Linked DNA regions of Homo sapiens: region 1 is linked to region 2. The links are contacts of gene promoters, found by promoter capture Hi-C in human tissues and cell types (Jung and others, 2019). All regions are on one chromosome and are shown on one strand. The core of a region is centred on a gene start or on the middle of the fragment in contact, and the rest is flanking DNA. Distances in the headings are between cores, read along the strand shown. Region 1 holds the start of BRF1 (BRF1 general transcription factor IIIB subunit). Region 2 holds the start of INF2 (inverted formin 2).

Evidence for each region. Contacts are between HindIII fragments. The study calls those that stand out against the background at their distance.
Region 1: the fragment with the promoter of BRF1 here is called in contact with the fragment with the promoter of INF2 in region 2 in 2 of the 25 tissues and cell types used here (IMR-90 fibroblasts and dorsolateral prefrontal cortex).

The regions. Positions count from the first base shown.
Region 1 is chr14:105,297,552-105,303,827 of GRCh38, forward strand. It overlaps BRF1 (BRF1 general transcription factor IIIB subunit), which reads right to left and starts at 3,450. Exons shown (of 18, transcript NM_001519.4): 1 at 2,895-3,450. The coding sequence starts at 3,078. It also overlaps the pseudogene LOC124903409 and a transcript of PACS2 not described here. RefSeq lists an enhancer at 2,192-2,271 and silencers at 3,122-3,531, 3,762-4,131. The HindIII fragment of the contact is 16,575 bases long and covers 1-6,276 here.
Region 2 is chr14:104,685,490-104,692,098 of GRCh38, forward strand. It overlaps INF2 (inverted formin 2), which reads left to right and starts at 4,129. Exons shown (of 23, transcript NM_022489.4): 1 at 4,129-4,250. RefSeq lists enhancers at 2,123-3,110, 3,111-4,100 and silencers at 3,793-4,052, 4,153-4,242, 4,263-4,502, 4,593-4,642. The HindIII fragment of the contact is 30,363 bases long and covers 1-6,609 here.

The DNA of each region.
Region 1 (6,276 bases), core at 2,200-4,699, 610 kb after region 2:
AGGGTGAGACTCTGTCTCAAAAAAAGAGAAAGAAAGAAAAAATGTCAGCTCTCCCTAAATATATCAAGAGGTTTAATGCAATTCCAATGAAAACCCCACCAGGACTTTTGTACAGGTTGAACATCCCAAATCCAAAAATCTGAGATTATAAATGCTCCAAAACGGCCCGGTGCAGTGGCTCACGCTGGTAAACCCAGCACTTTGGGAGGCTGAGGCAGGTGGATCACGAGGTCAGGAGATCGAAACCATCCCGGCTAACACGGTGAAACCCCGTCTCTACTAAAAATACAAAAAATTAGCCGGGCGTGGTGGCGGTCGCCTGTAGTCCCAGCTACTTGGGAGGCTGAGGCAGGAGAATGGCGTGAAGCCAGGAGGCGGAGCTTGCAGTGAGCCGAGATAGTGCCACTGCACTCCAGCATGGGCAGCAAAGCGAGACTCCGTCTCAAGAAAAAAATAAAATAAAAAATAAATGCTCCAAAACATGAAACTTTTTGAGTATCAACACGATGCTCAAAGGAAATGCTCACTGGAGCATCTCAGATTTCAGATTTTTCGATTAGGGATGCTTAACCAGTAATTATAATGCAGATATTCCAAAATCAGAAAACTCTGGTATCCAAAACACTTCTGGTCCCAAGCATTTCAGGTAAGAATATGTGACCTGCAGAGATGCACAAACTTACTCTAAAATTAAAAAGAGAAAGGGAAATTAATAGCCACAACAACTTTGAAAAGGAAGAACAAAGGTTGAGGGACTCACAATATCTGATTTCAGGACAATATAACAGGTATAGTAAAAAAGCGTGTGATGCTGACAAAGGAAAACGGCACCTGATCAACAGGGCAGGACACAAGGCCCAGAGACAGACCTGCACGGACGGGGCCCAGTGAGCACAGCCGAGGGAGCAAAGGCCTTCAGTCTTTCAACAAACGGTGTTGAAACAAGGGGACCTCCAGATAAACAATGAGCCTCAGCCTACAAAGCACACCTTATACAAAACATAGATGGACCACAGATTTAGGCCAGGTGCGGTGGCTCGCGCCTGTAATCCCAGCACTTTGGGAGGCTGAGGCAGGCGGATCACTTGAGGTCAGGTGTTCAAGACCAGCCTGACGAACAGGGTGAAACCCTGTCTCTACTAAAAATACAAAAATTAGCCAAGTGAGGTGGCGCACGCCTGTAATCCCAGGTACTTGGGAGGCTGAGGCACGAGAATCACTTGAACCTGGGAGGCAGAGGTTGCAGTGAAACGAGATTGTGCCACTGCACTCCAGCCTGGGCCACAGAGCAAGATTCTGTCTCAAAAAAAAAAAAAAAGTTAAAACTTCTGCTTTGAGGCCGTGCGCAGTGGCTCACGCCTGTAATCCCAGCACTTTGGGAGGCCGAGGTAGGCGGATCACGAGGTCAGGAGATCGAGACCATCCTGGCTATCACAGTGAAACCCCGTCTCCACTAAAAAATACAAAAAAAATTAGCCGGGCATGGTAGTGGGCTCCTGTAGTCCCAGCTACTCGGGAGGCTGAGGCAGGAGAATGGCGTGAGCCTGGGAGGCAGAGCTTGCAGTGAGCCGAGATCGAGCCACTGCACTCCAGCCTGGGCAACAGAGCAAGACTCCATCTCAAAAGAAAAAAAACTTCTGCTTTGAAAATCACATATACAACAAAGGGCTTGTAACTACAATCCACAAAGAACTCCCAAAACTCAACAATAAGAAAACAACCCAAATAAAAAATGAGAGTCAGGGTGTGGTGGCTCACGCTGTAATCCCAGCAATTCGGGAGGCCAAGGCTGGAGTATCACTTGAGCCCAGGAGTTTGAGACCAGCCTGGGCAACATAGAGACCTTGTCTCTACTAAAAATAAAATAAAATAAATGATCACAGCATGGTGGCATGCACCTGTAGTCTCAGCTACTCAGGAGGTTGAGGCAGGAGAATTGCCTGAGCCTAGGAGTTCAAGGCTGCAGAGAGCCATGACTGGGCCATTGCACACCAGCCTGGGCCACAGAGTGAGATCCTGTCTCGAGATAAATAAAAAAATAAGACTTGAGCACACATTTCAACAAAGAGGATTCGGGCATGGCAAATAAGCACCCTAATAAGGTTGAACATCACTAGCCAGTAGAGAAATACAGAATACCACTATGATGAGATGCCACACACCTGTTAGAACAACCGAAATAAAAACATCGACAACACCAAGTGCTGGTGAAGATGTGGGGCAACTGGTGAGAATGCATAATGGCACAGCCACATCACAAAACAGTTCATGACAGTTTCCCATAGAGTTACACATACAGCTAAGTTCCCCAGAGAAATGAAAACGTATGTTCACACAGAGAGCTGCAAATGAATCCTTTTAGCAGCTCTATTCACAACCACCTGAAACTGGCCACAGTCCAGCTCCTTCCACAGGCTGGGGTCCATCCCCAGCCCGCAATACTGCCCATCACTGAAACGTCCCCTCCGAGGCCTGCAGCAGCCTGAGTGGCCCTAGGGCATCCGCCCGGTAACCACCAAGGCCAAGGGCAGCAGCAATCGGATTCTAAGTACCAGACATTGCTGAAAACAAAACTGCAGGCACAGAGAGTGACAGTGAGGGGCAGCTTGAGGGGCCTTCTGGGCTCCCCAGGCTCTCTTCAACCCTCCCTGTGCTGGCTGCCCTGGCCCACGCGTGTGTCGAGGAAGTCCACGCACGCCACGGGGGTCCACAGGCGCGCGAAGAAGGTCTACATTCTCGCCAAGGGGATCCACACTCGCGCCCAGACGGCGCAGAACCGCGCGCCCCGACAGAGCGTGCGGTACCGAGGCGCTGGTCCCGGCCGCGCCGTCACCGCCTCCAGCCCGCCTAAGCCGCACCGAGAAATCCGCGCAGCGCCAGCCCGCGGGACTCACCGTCCAGGGACACGAACTGGCCCACGGCCGAGGAGCCGCCGCCGCTGCTCTCCACGAACTGCACCTCGGACACGATGATGTTGTCCTCCAGCACTGAGCCGCAGGCGGTGCACACCGCGTCCCCGCGCGCCGCGTCCAGCTCGATGTCCGTGCCGCCGCAACCGCGGCACACGCGGCCCGTCATGCCGGCGACCGCGCGGGCAGCGCCCGGAGCCTCCCAAGACTCTCAAGCCACCCGAGCCTCCGGAGCAGCCCGCGCCGCCCGCCCAGGCCCAGCCGCCCAGGCCTCGCCGCTCTCGCGAGGCCCCGCTCCAGCCGATTCGCAGCCGCAGATTCGCCGCGCGCGCCCGGGCCGCGCCGCCCGCAACGGCCGCGCCCGCGGGATGGGACAGGCACCGGGACCACGGCGGGGACGCGAGGACTGGAGCCGCGACCTCCCCACTGCGAGCGAGCTGGCCTCCCTTGCGGCGCGCCGGCGTCGGAGGGGCGACCTGCGGGGGCTGGGCTTCGGCGGAACCCGAGCGGGGCCTACCGGTGAGCGCAGCCGAGGACTGGCGCTTGGGGGCGGGGCCACGGCGGTGAGCGCAGCCCGGGACTGGAGTTTGGGGCGGGGCCTCGTCGGTGGGCGACACCGGGGACTAGAGCTAAGGGTGGGGCCTCGCGGTGAGTGCAGCCGGGGACGGGACCCAAGGCTGGCGACGGGACCCAAGGCTGGCGACGCGACCTAAGGCAGTGGGCGGGCCCTTGGCGATGAACGCAGTCGGGGACTAAAGCTGGACGCGGGGCAGAGGAGGGTCCTCCTCGGATAGTGAGCGCGGTCTCCAGCGGCGAGCGAGGCCTGGGGTGAGGACTCAGCCGGATGCGGGGCTGAGGGTGGGGGGCGGGGCCTCCCGTGGAGAGACGGCCTGCGAAGGGAACTGGAGCTGTGGGCGGGGGAAGGGGGCGGAGCCTGGGTCTGGACCCGAACTGTGGGCGGGGCTTGAGGCGAGGGGGCCGAGCGTGGTGGGCGGGGCCTTGGCTCCTGAGGGCGACCTGGGACCCAACCCCGGGCTCTGGGAGTGGTGGGCGGGGCCAGGGCAGCTGCGCTGGGGGGCCTGGCCGCAGAGGTGGAGACACCCGCCAGGGGCCACCCTGCCCCGCCCTCCGCATTTGCGGCGTCCGCCGCTCCGCTCGCCCAGGTTCCAGAGCCTCCCCGTGCGCCCCGCTATTCTCCGTTTTCTGTTCCCCTAAAATTCCCACTTTCTAGCAGTCATTCGTGGCCACCTGTGGTTACCCGTGAGTCACCTCGCTGTGCCCCCTGCCCAGAGCGGGAACCCTGGCTGCGCACGCCCTCAAATATCTGCAGGTGCTGTTCACAATCGCCATAGGGCCGGTGACATACCCAGGAATGAGCCTAAAAAGAAATGCGTAACCAGGCGTAGTGGCTCACGCTTGTAATCCCAGCACTTTGGGAGGCCAAGGCAGGCGGATCACGTAAGGTGAGGAGTTCGAGACCAGCCTGGCCAACATGGCGAAACCCCGTCTCCACTAAAAATACAAAAAAATTAGCCAGGCTTGGTGGTGGGCGCCTGTAATCCCAGCTACTCGCGAGTCTGAGACAGGAGAACCACTTGAACCTGAGAGGTGGAGGTTGCAGTGAGCTGAGATCCCGCCATTGCACTCCAGCCTGGGTGACGGGTGACAAGAGTGAAACTCTGTCTCAAAAAAAAAAAAGAGAAAAAAGGAAATGCGGAAGACCCCACCCTCTTTTTTTTCTTTCTTTTTTTTTTTTTTTTGAGACGGAGTCTCTGCTCTGTTGCCCAGGCTGGAGTGCAGTGGTGAGATATCGGCTCACTGCAACCTCTGCCTCCTGGGTTTAAGCGATTCTCCTCTCTCAGCCTCCCGAGTAGCTGGGATTACAGGTATGCACCACCACACCTGGCTAATTTTGTATTTTTAGTAGAGACGGGGTTTCTCCATGTTGGTCAGGCCAGTCTTGAACTCCCGACCTCAGGTGATCCGCCCACTTCAGCCTCCCAAAGTGCTGGGATTACAGGCATGAGCCACCGTGCATGGCCCTATTTCATTAATTTCTGCTCTCATTTTTGTTAGATCCTTCTTTCCACTTAATTTGGTTCAATGTGTTCCCTTTTTCTAGTTTCTTCATTTTTTAAAAATTGAGATAGTGTCTCATTCTGTCACCCAAGGTGGAGTGCAGTAGCATAATCAAGCCTCACTGCAGACTCTACCTCCTGGGCTCAGGTGATCCTCCCACCTCAGCCTCCCGAGTAGCTGGAACTACAGGCATGTGCCACCACACCCAGATAATATTTTTTGTAGAGATGGGTTTTTGCCTCATTTGCCCAGGCTGGTCTGGAACTCCTGGGCTCAAGTGAGCCACCCGCCTTGTCTTCCCAAAGTGCTGGGATTACAGGCATGAGCCACTGCTCCCCGCCCTGTCCTCCCAAAGTGCTGGGATTACAGGCATGAGCCACTGCTCCCCGCCCTTTCTCTAGTTCTTTTTTTTTTTTGAGATAGAGAACACCCAGGCTGGAGTTCAGTGGTGCCATCTCAGCTCACTGCAACTTCCACCTCCCAGGTTCAAGTGATTCTGTCACTTCAGCCTCCCAAGTAGCTGGAATTACAGGCATGTGCCACCACGCCCAGCTAATTTTTGTATTTTTAGTAGAGATGGGGTTTCACCATGTTGGCTAGGCTGGTCCCAAACTCCTGACCTCAAGTGATCCACCTGTCTTGGTCTCCCAAAGTGTTGAGATTCTACACGTGAGCCAATGCACCCGGCCCCTTTTTCTAGTTTTTGTTTTGTTTTGTTTTTTGAGGTGGAGTCTCGCTCTGTCACCCAGGCTGGAATGCAGTGGTGCGATCTTGGCTCACTGTAACCTCCACCTCCCGGGTTCATGCCATTCTCCTGCCTCAGCCTCCCAAGTAGCTGGGACTACAGGTGCCCACCACCATGCCTGGCTAATTTTTTGTATTTTTAGTAGAGACAGGGTTTCACTGTGTTAGCCAGGATGGTCTTGATCTCCTGACCTCGTGATCCACCTGTCTCGCCCTCCCAAAGTGCTGGGACTATGGGCGTGAGCCATCGCGCCTGGCCTTTTCCTAGTTTTTTAAGGTGAAAGATGAAATCATTGATTTAAGATCTCTTTTCCTTTATAAATAGGCATTTTATTGCTATAATTCTCCCTGTAATTACCACTTTAGCTGAATCCTGCACATTTCAATGTGCTGTGTTTTCATTTTCATTCAGCTCAAGATTGTCTCCACTCTTAATTTCCTCCCGGATCCAAGGGTTATTAGGAAGTGTATTGTTTTGTTTCTAAATGTTGGGGATTTTTCAAATATGTATTATTGATCTCTATGCAAAATGCTCTCTGTCCAT
Region 2 (6,609 bases), core at 2,879-5,378:
GTGACTGGGGGCGGTCGTGTCCTTGTCAGCAAGCATAGAGCAGAACAGCTGCCCAAGGTGCCACAGCTGGAAGGGTGAGTGGGTGGATGGGTGGATGAAAGGGTGGGTGGGTGGGTGGATGGGTGGATGAATGGGTGGGTAGGTGGGGGGATGGGTGGATGAGTGGATGATGGCTGGGTAGGTGGATGGGTGGATGAGTAGGTGGATGGATGTGTTGGTGGATAGGTGGGTGGGTGGATGGATGAATGGATGGGCAGATGGATGGATAAGGGTGGGTGCATGGGTGGATGAATGGGTGAGTAGGTGGGTGGATGGGTGGATGAGTGGATGATGGGTGGGTAGGCCGATGGGTAAGTGGATGGTGGGTGGATGGATGGATGGGTGGGTGGATGGATGAATGAATGGGCAGATGAATGGATGAGGGTGGGTGGGTGAGTGGCAAATGGGTGGGTAAGTGGGGGGATGGGTGCATGAGTGGATGATGGGTGGGTAGGTGGATGGATGGATGGGTAGGTGGGTGGATAGGTGGGTGGGTAGGTGGGTGGGTGGATGGACAAATAGATGGGCAGATGGATGGATGAGGGTGGGTGGATCAGTCGGTGGGTAGGTGGTTAGATGGGTGGATGAGTGGATGATGGGTAGGTGGATGGGTAGATGGATGAAGGGATGGGCAGATGGATGGATGAGTAGATGATAGGTGGGTAGGTGGATGGGTGGATGGGTAGGTGGATGGATGTGTGAGTGGATAGGTGGGTGGGTGGATAGATGAATGGATGGGCAGATGGATGGATAAGGGTAGGTGGATGAATGGGTGGGTAGGTGGGTGGATGGGTGGATGAGTGGATTAAGGGTGAATAGGTGGATGGGTAGGTGTATGGATAAGTGGATGGACAGATGGGTGGGTGGATGGATGAATGGATAGGCAGATGGATGGATGAGGGTGGGTGGGTGAATGGGTGGGTAGGTGGGTGAACAGACGGATGAAGTGTGGGTGTGTGTGGGAATGGATGGATGAATGGGTGAATGGGTACATAGGTGGGCAAGGTGGGTGGACATGGGTGAGCAGGCATGTTTTCACTTACTTCATTCTGTAACAATGTCAGAGATCATCTCAGGGCACCACAGTAGGATGCAAAATAAAATCTCAAAAGGGGAAAAAAGATAAAAAGCATTCTGGGTGCTGAACTGATGAAGGAAATGAACCCATGGCCAGGCTGCTGCTCAGGTGGACCCCAGGAAGCCCTTCTGGGCCTGCAAGTGGCCGCCTGCTGCATGCAGGGCTGTCCTGACTGCACGGCGGCGCCAACATCAGGCTGGGAGGATTTCTCTCAGAACGCCCACACCTGCCTGCCTGTTTCTAGCAGAACTCAAGCTGTCGGTGCCAAGGCCTGCTCTCCCCTCATCCCAATCTTCCAGCAAGAGGCAGAGGCAAGCTCTCCACAGGCCTACAGTGGCAGGGCCACTCTTGCACTCTGTGCCAGTGGCCAGGAACATGTGGCTCCGCCTGGGTGTGTCACAGTACCAGCCTGTACCTGCACGACCCTGTTCTCAGGCATCTGGGTACCTGCAGCTGGGGGCCGGCACTTGTGTACCCGGCTCCGAGGAAGGACCGACACCCAGGAGGGGAGGCTCCAGGCAGGCCATGGCTTCCAGGAAGCAGCTCCGGAAGCCGCAGGCAGTGGCTGCAGGTGGTGTGTTTCTGAGGCCAAATCGGTCCTCTCTTCAACCCCAGGGCCAGGAAGCAAGCTCAGAATAGGGCCAGGATGGAGTCTGGGAGCGCTGGAGGTACAGAGGGTTGAGGGTGAGCCACTGAAGGAGAAGAGGAGGGGGCCTCTGTATGTCTCAGAAAATCAGTGCTCAAGCCGGGTTGAACCCTGCTGCCCCGGGCATGGTGGGTTCAAGCCTGACGGAAAACCCCCTTTCAGTGTCCACATTTCCACCCTCCCAGACCTCTGACCTCGGCCTCCACTCCACACACACACACACACATACACACACACACACACAGACACACACTCTTAATCAGGGCCCAAAGCCCTCCTCTGCACTCCCTGCCGACCCCAGGGACTTCTCCAACCTCTCTCCAACTAAATCACATTCACCCCACCTTCTTCACCCTGCTCCGGCCTGTGCTGGCCTCTCTGGACCAGGTGTGCAGCTCGGAAGCACGACTGGGTGCAAGGGAGACAGCCCCAGGCAGGAGCGGCCCTGGGGGCGCTGGGCCTCCCTCCCCCATCAGGGCAGGAAAGGTGGACCCCTCGCCCACACCTGACCTCCTACTCCAGCCTCTGAGTAAGGCTCAGGACTCTGACTTTCCCCCAGGCAGGTGGACAGGGGAGGGGGCTGCAGGTCAAAGCTCACTCCCCACCAACCTCCTCACATTCCTCCATTCACTGGATCAACAAACACACCCACTGCCCAGCACCGCTGCCAGGCATCAGCTCCCAACGCAGATGAGTCAGCCCCGCCCGTGCCCTCCAGGGTGGGGTGGTACCAGGGCAGGCACCAATGTTCGGGTCCAGGAGTGCACCAGGAGACCCAAAGCCCAGCTTGAGGGAGGGCAGGAAGGCCTTCTGCTCTGGAAGGGGCCCTGGAGCCCGGTGTGGAGGGCCGGAGGCCGGCCTTCCAGGTGCATTCCAAGAATTGCAGAGTGCCTGTCTAGGAGCAGCGGCCGCCCAGGTTGGAGGGTGTCCAGTGAGCGCCTGCCTTGGCTGGCTCCTCAGGCACACCCGGGGCTGTGGCCTGCAGCTGCTCCTGCACTGGGGCTGAGCCAGCAAACTTCCGGGGCTGGGGCTGCTGGGCAGGGCAAGGTCCGCACAGGGAGCAGACAGACGCAGCCTGCAATTCGGCGCTTATCCCCACCGGAGCGGAGGCACACCAAAGCCAAAGGACACGCAGCTGGCCTCAAAGCAGAAGCTGCATCGGGGCTGGGAAGCCATTCAGGAGCCCTTTTCTCTCCCCTCGCCCTCACCCTGAGCCCTGGCCGCCACGGCCCACACAGCAGGCCCTCCGGAGAGAGATGTCAGGACTCCGAGTGGAGACACTTTATCCGCATGTTCTTGACCCTCATACAGCCCTTACGGGTACTTATTCTATTTTACAGATGGGGAAACTGAGGCTCCACAGAGTCATATCCGAGCCTGAGGCCGCACAGGGAGTGCTGGCGCCGGTTCTCAGGGCAGGGGTTGTGTCTGCTCTGTCACATGTCACACGGGGGCTCCCCCAGGCCTGCCTTCCTCTGCCCTCCCTCTAGCTGCCAGTGGCCCCCAAACCCCAGGCCTGGTGCGCTGCTTCCTGCAGCTCTGACTGAGGGTCAGACGTCAGAAGGGACTTCCAGAGCTGGGGTCTGGCTCTCATCCAACCAGGCTGGCTTTCAGAGCCGACTATGGGCACGCCCCATGCTGGTCAATGTCGGCGGTGGGGGGATGGGTGCCCCCCTCAATCTAGGAGACAGATGAGGCCGGACAGCAGAGGGGTGGCAGAGAAAACCCACCCCATTGCGACACCTCCGCGGCCCTCATGCAGCTGTCTCCACCAACCGGCGAAGTGCGGCTGCCCAAGACCGCCGAGACCCCATCAAGGGTGGAAGGGGGTCAGGCAGGGCTGCGGAGAGGAGGCCACATGGGTGGCCTGGTTGATGGGTAGGCTCTCTCTCCCCAAAGCCTGGGAAGAGCCATCTCTGCTGAGGGATCCCCGAACGCGGGGACTCCGGATCCGGCTGGCTGGAACGGGAGTCCCGGGCCGGGGCAGAGAGAGGTGAGCGGCGCCTGGGAGGCCAGTCCCACCGGAGGATAGGGGTGTAGGTGGACGGGAGGCGGTGGAGGGCAGGGACGGGGCGGACAGTGGGGGCTGAGGCGGGAGACGGCCCCGATCTGCGCGTCCCACCCCCATCTCCGCCCACCAGGAGCCAGGCCAGCAGGGACCGCGAGGGGGCGGCCAGGTTATTCACGGGAGTGGGGAGACCCCTTAAAGCGCCCTCAGGGACCGGCCACAGTGGGCGGGGCCACCCCCAGCCACCCACCTCCCCCCCCAGGCCCCGCCCCCGGCCCGCGCTCGCTCCCCACGTGGCCGCTGACGGGCGGGGCGGCACCTCCTCTTCCTCCCGCCCGCCCCGCCCGCCCCGCGCCCGCCAGGAGCCACCGTCCGAGCCTTGCGGAGCGCGGCAGTGGGCGCCGGCTGCCCGCAGCCCCTGACCCGGCCCCGGACGGAGCGCCGGCCGCACCACCGCCCTCTGGCCGTTGCCTCACCGGGTAAGTCCTTGGCCTCGGGGTCCGCTTGGAGCTTCAGGGGAAACTGAGTCCGGGAGGAGGCAGGGGCGTGCTTGGGTCCAGGAGCGAGGTTCCGGGCTGCGGCGTGTGTGCCCAGGTGGCGGCGGGCGGTCCGGCGGCGCAGGGTACAGTTCCCGGGCGGGGACCCCAGGGCGCCCCTGGCCCCCCCGGCTCCGCGCGCCCCGCTCGGGACTATGGTCCTCCGCGCCGAGGCACCGCCCGAGCGCGCACTGGCCGCAGAGTGGTGGGCCCAGGGTCGGCCGGGCCTACTCCCAGGGCAGGCGGGATTTCCGCGCCTCGCGGCTGCCACATCCTGACCATGAATCAGCCACAGTTGGGAAAATAAACTTCAACTTCGGGTCCGCCGCCCGGGTGGCACCCCGAGGTGCGCGCCGGCCTGCGGCCCCACCCTGACTGCTTGGCTTCCAGCTGCCCACGCGCAGGTGGGCGCACAGGGAGCCCTTCCCACCCCGCAACCGCTGGCAGGCTTAGGGGAATCAGCCTCCATCACAGCTCTCTGTTCCTTTTGGGTGGGGTAGGATCCAATCCCTGTACGCCCCCAGACCCACCCGTCAACCCTCTAACTGGGGAGTCGCCCCAGGAGTGACCATGACTAAGGAGGGGAAGGCGGGGTGACCAGCTGTGTCCCTGACCGTCCCCAATGCCCCCTGGGGAGCACAGGCGTGGGGGGTGGTCTGTCTGTCTGGGCCTTCTGGGGCTCAAGCTCCCCACCCAGGGCTCCCGCAGCTCAGCTGTGACCACAGCATTACTGCCCACTCCAGCTGGACACACCAGGAGGCAGAGAGGCAGAGACCCTGCCCAGGCAGGGAACCAGGAACCCAGGAACCGGGCCAGAGGTCAGGCACACCCAGAAGGCGCTGGACGTAGGAAATTCCCTTACTGCCAGCCCTGCCCCTCCGTCTGGCACTGGAATGGAGCAGGATACTCGCCCTCTTCCGGCCTCAGTTTCCACATCTGCACTCTGAAGGGTGGGACAGCAGCTCAGGCTGGGACCTGCTCCCTGCCGCCCTGCACTGGGAAGGTGGGGTCCCAGAGCAGTGCCTCAGACCCCGAGGGTGCCACCCAGCCAGGGGCTTTTGGGGTGTCGGTGCTCAGCCCCCAGTGCAGCAAATAGTAGCATTGGGTTCCAGGCCTGGGGTCTGAGACCTCACACTGCTCCCACCCCTACCAGGGCAGCAGCAATTTTCTGTTCTAAAAGCCAGGTTGGTGCAGTGGGCCCTGCCCAGGCCCTGCCCTCCCATCCCTGGACTGTCATGGGCCCTGCAGCCCGGCAAAGGGGATGTCGCTAGTGGGGACGGACCAAGTGGCCAGGTGCGACTGTAGCCTCCACAGCCAGGGCTCCTGAGTTAACCTTCAGGTGAGCGCCCACTTTGTGGAGGAGCTGACGGCTGTCAAGCGAATGACACACACCGCACATGTGGGGACGTGGAAGCTCCTACCTGAAATAGACTCTGCGCCTTCCATCAAAGTGCAGTTACTTCCTGGGTTGGAAAAGTTATGCGGTTCATGCAGGCTGCGGGAGGGGTGGGTGGTGACTGGAAAGTGATGCGGTGCTGCCTGTGGGTGTGGGGCAGGACGCAGCTGGCCCAGCTCTGGACGGGGACAGTGAAGTAAGCTCAAGCCCCTGGCTTTTTGCTGGTGCCTGGAGGTCAAATTTCCCTGTAGTCAGGAATGAGACCTGACTCCCTGCTGCCAGCCCCTCCCCTACCTCCATCTTGCAAACAGCAGGTGTCTGATAGGTGTGTGGTTCATGGCCCAGTGGACACATTACATTGGAGAAGGCACACCCACCTCTGTTTTCAGGATGGTGGACGGGAAGGCCGGGAGGTGGAGGCCACATAGGAGCCAGTCTCTGGAGGGTGGTCCCCAGGGGCCACAGCAGACCCAGGCCTAGTGGACACCTAAAGTCAAAGACTAAGTTCTACCAACGGTGGGAAGGAGAGAGGGCAGGGGCACGGGCTCCCCGTCGCTGGAGGGGTGAGCAGGGTCCAACCACCTGGCCCCCTGTTAGAGAGGCTTCCACTCCTGCCAGCCTCACCCTAGGAGGGAGAGTCCTGCCTGGTCTGCCTCTGAGCACCCAGACAGCCTGGGTCCTGAGCTGGGGTGAGGTCTGCTCACACAGCTGCCCCCCAGCCCAGTGCCGGTATACCCTGGCAACCACCAGGCCAGGAGAGCAGGGCAGACCGGTGGTGCCTGTCCTCTCCTGAGGGGCCGTCCTCTCTCACAGCCCTTTCTAAGCTGTAATTAAATAAGGAACCACAGGGGTTGCTTAGGGTCGCCCCTCTGAGGGCTCATGTCAGTCCCCGAGGGCCAGCCTCAG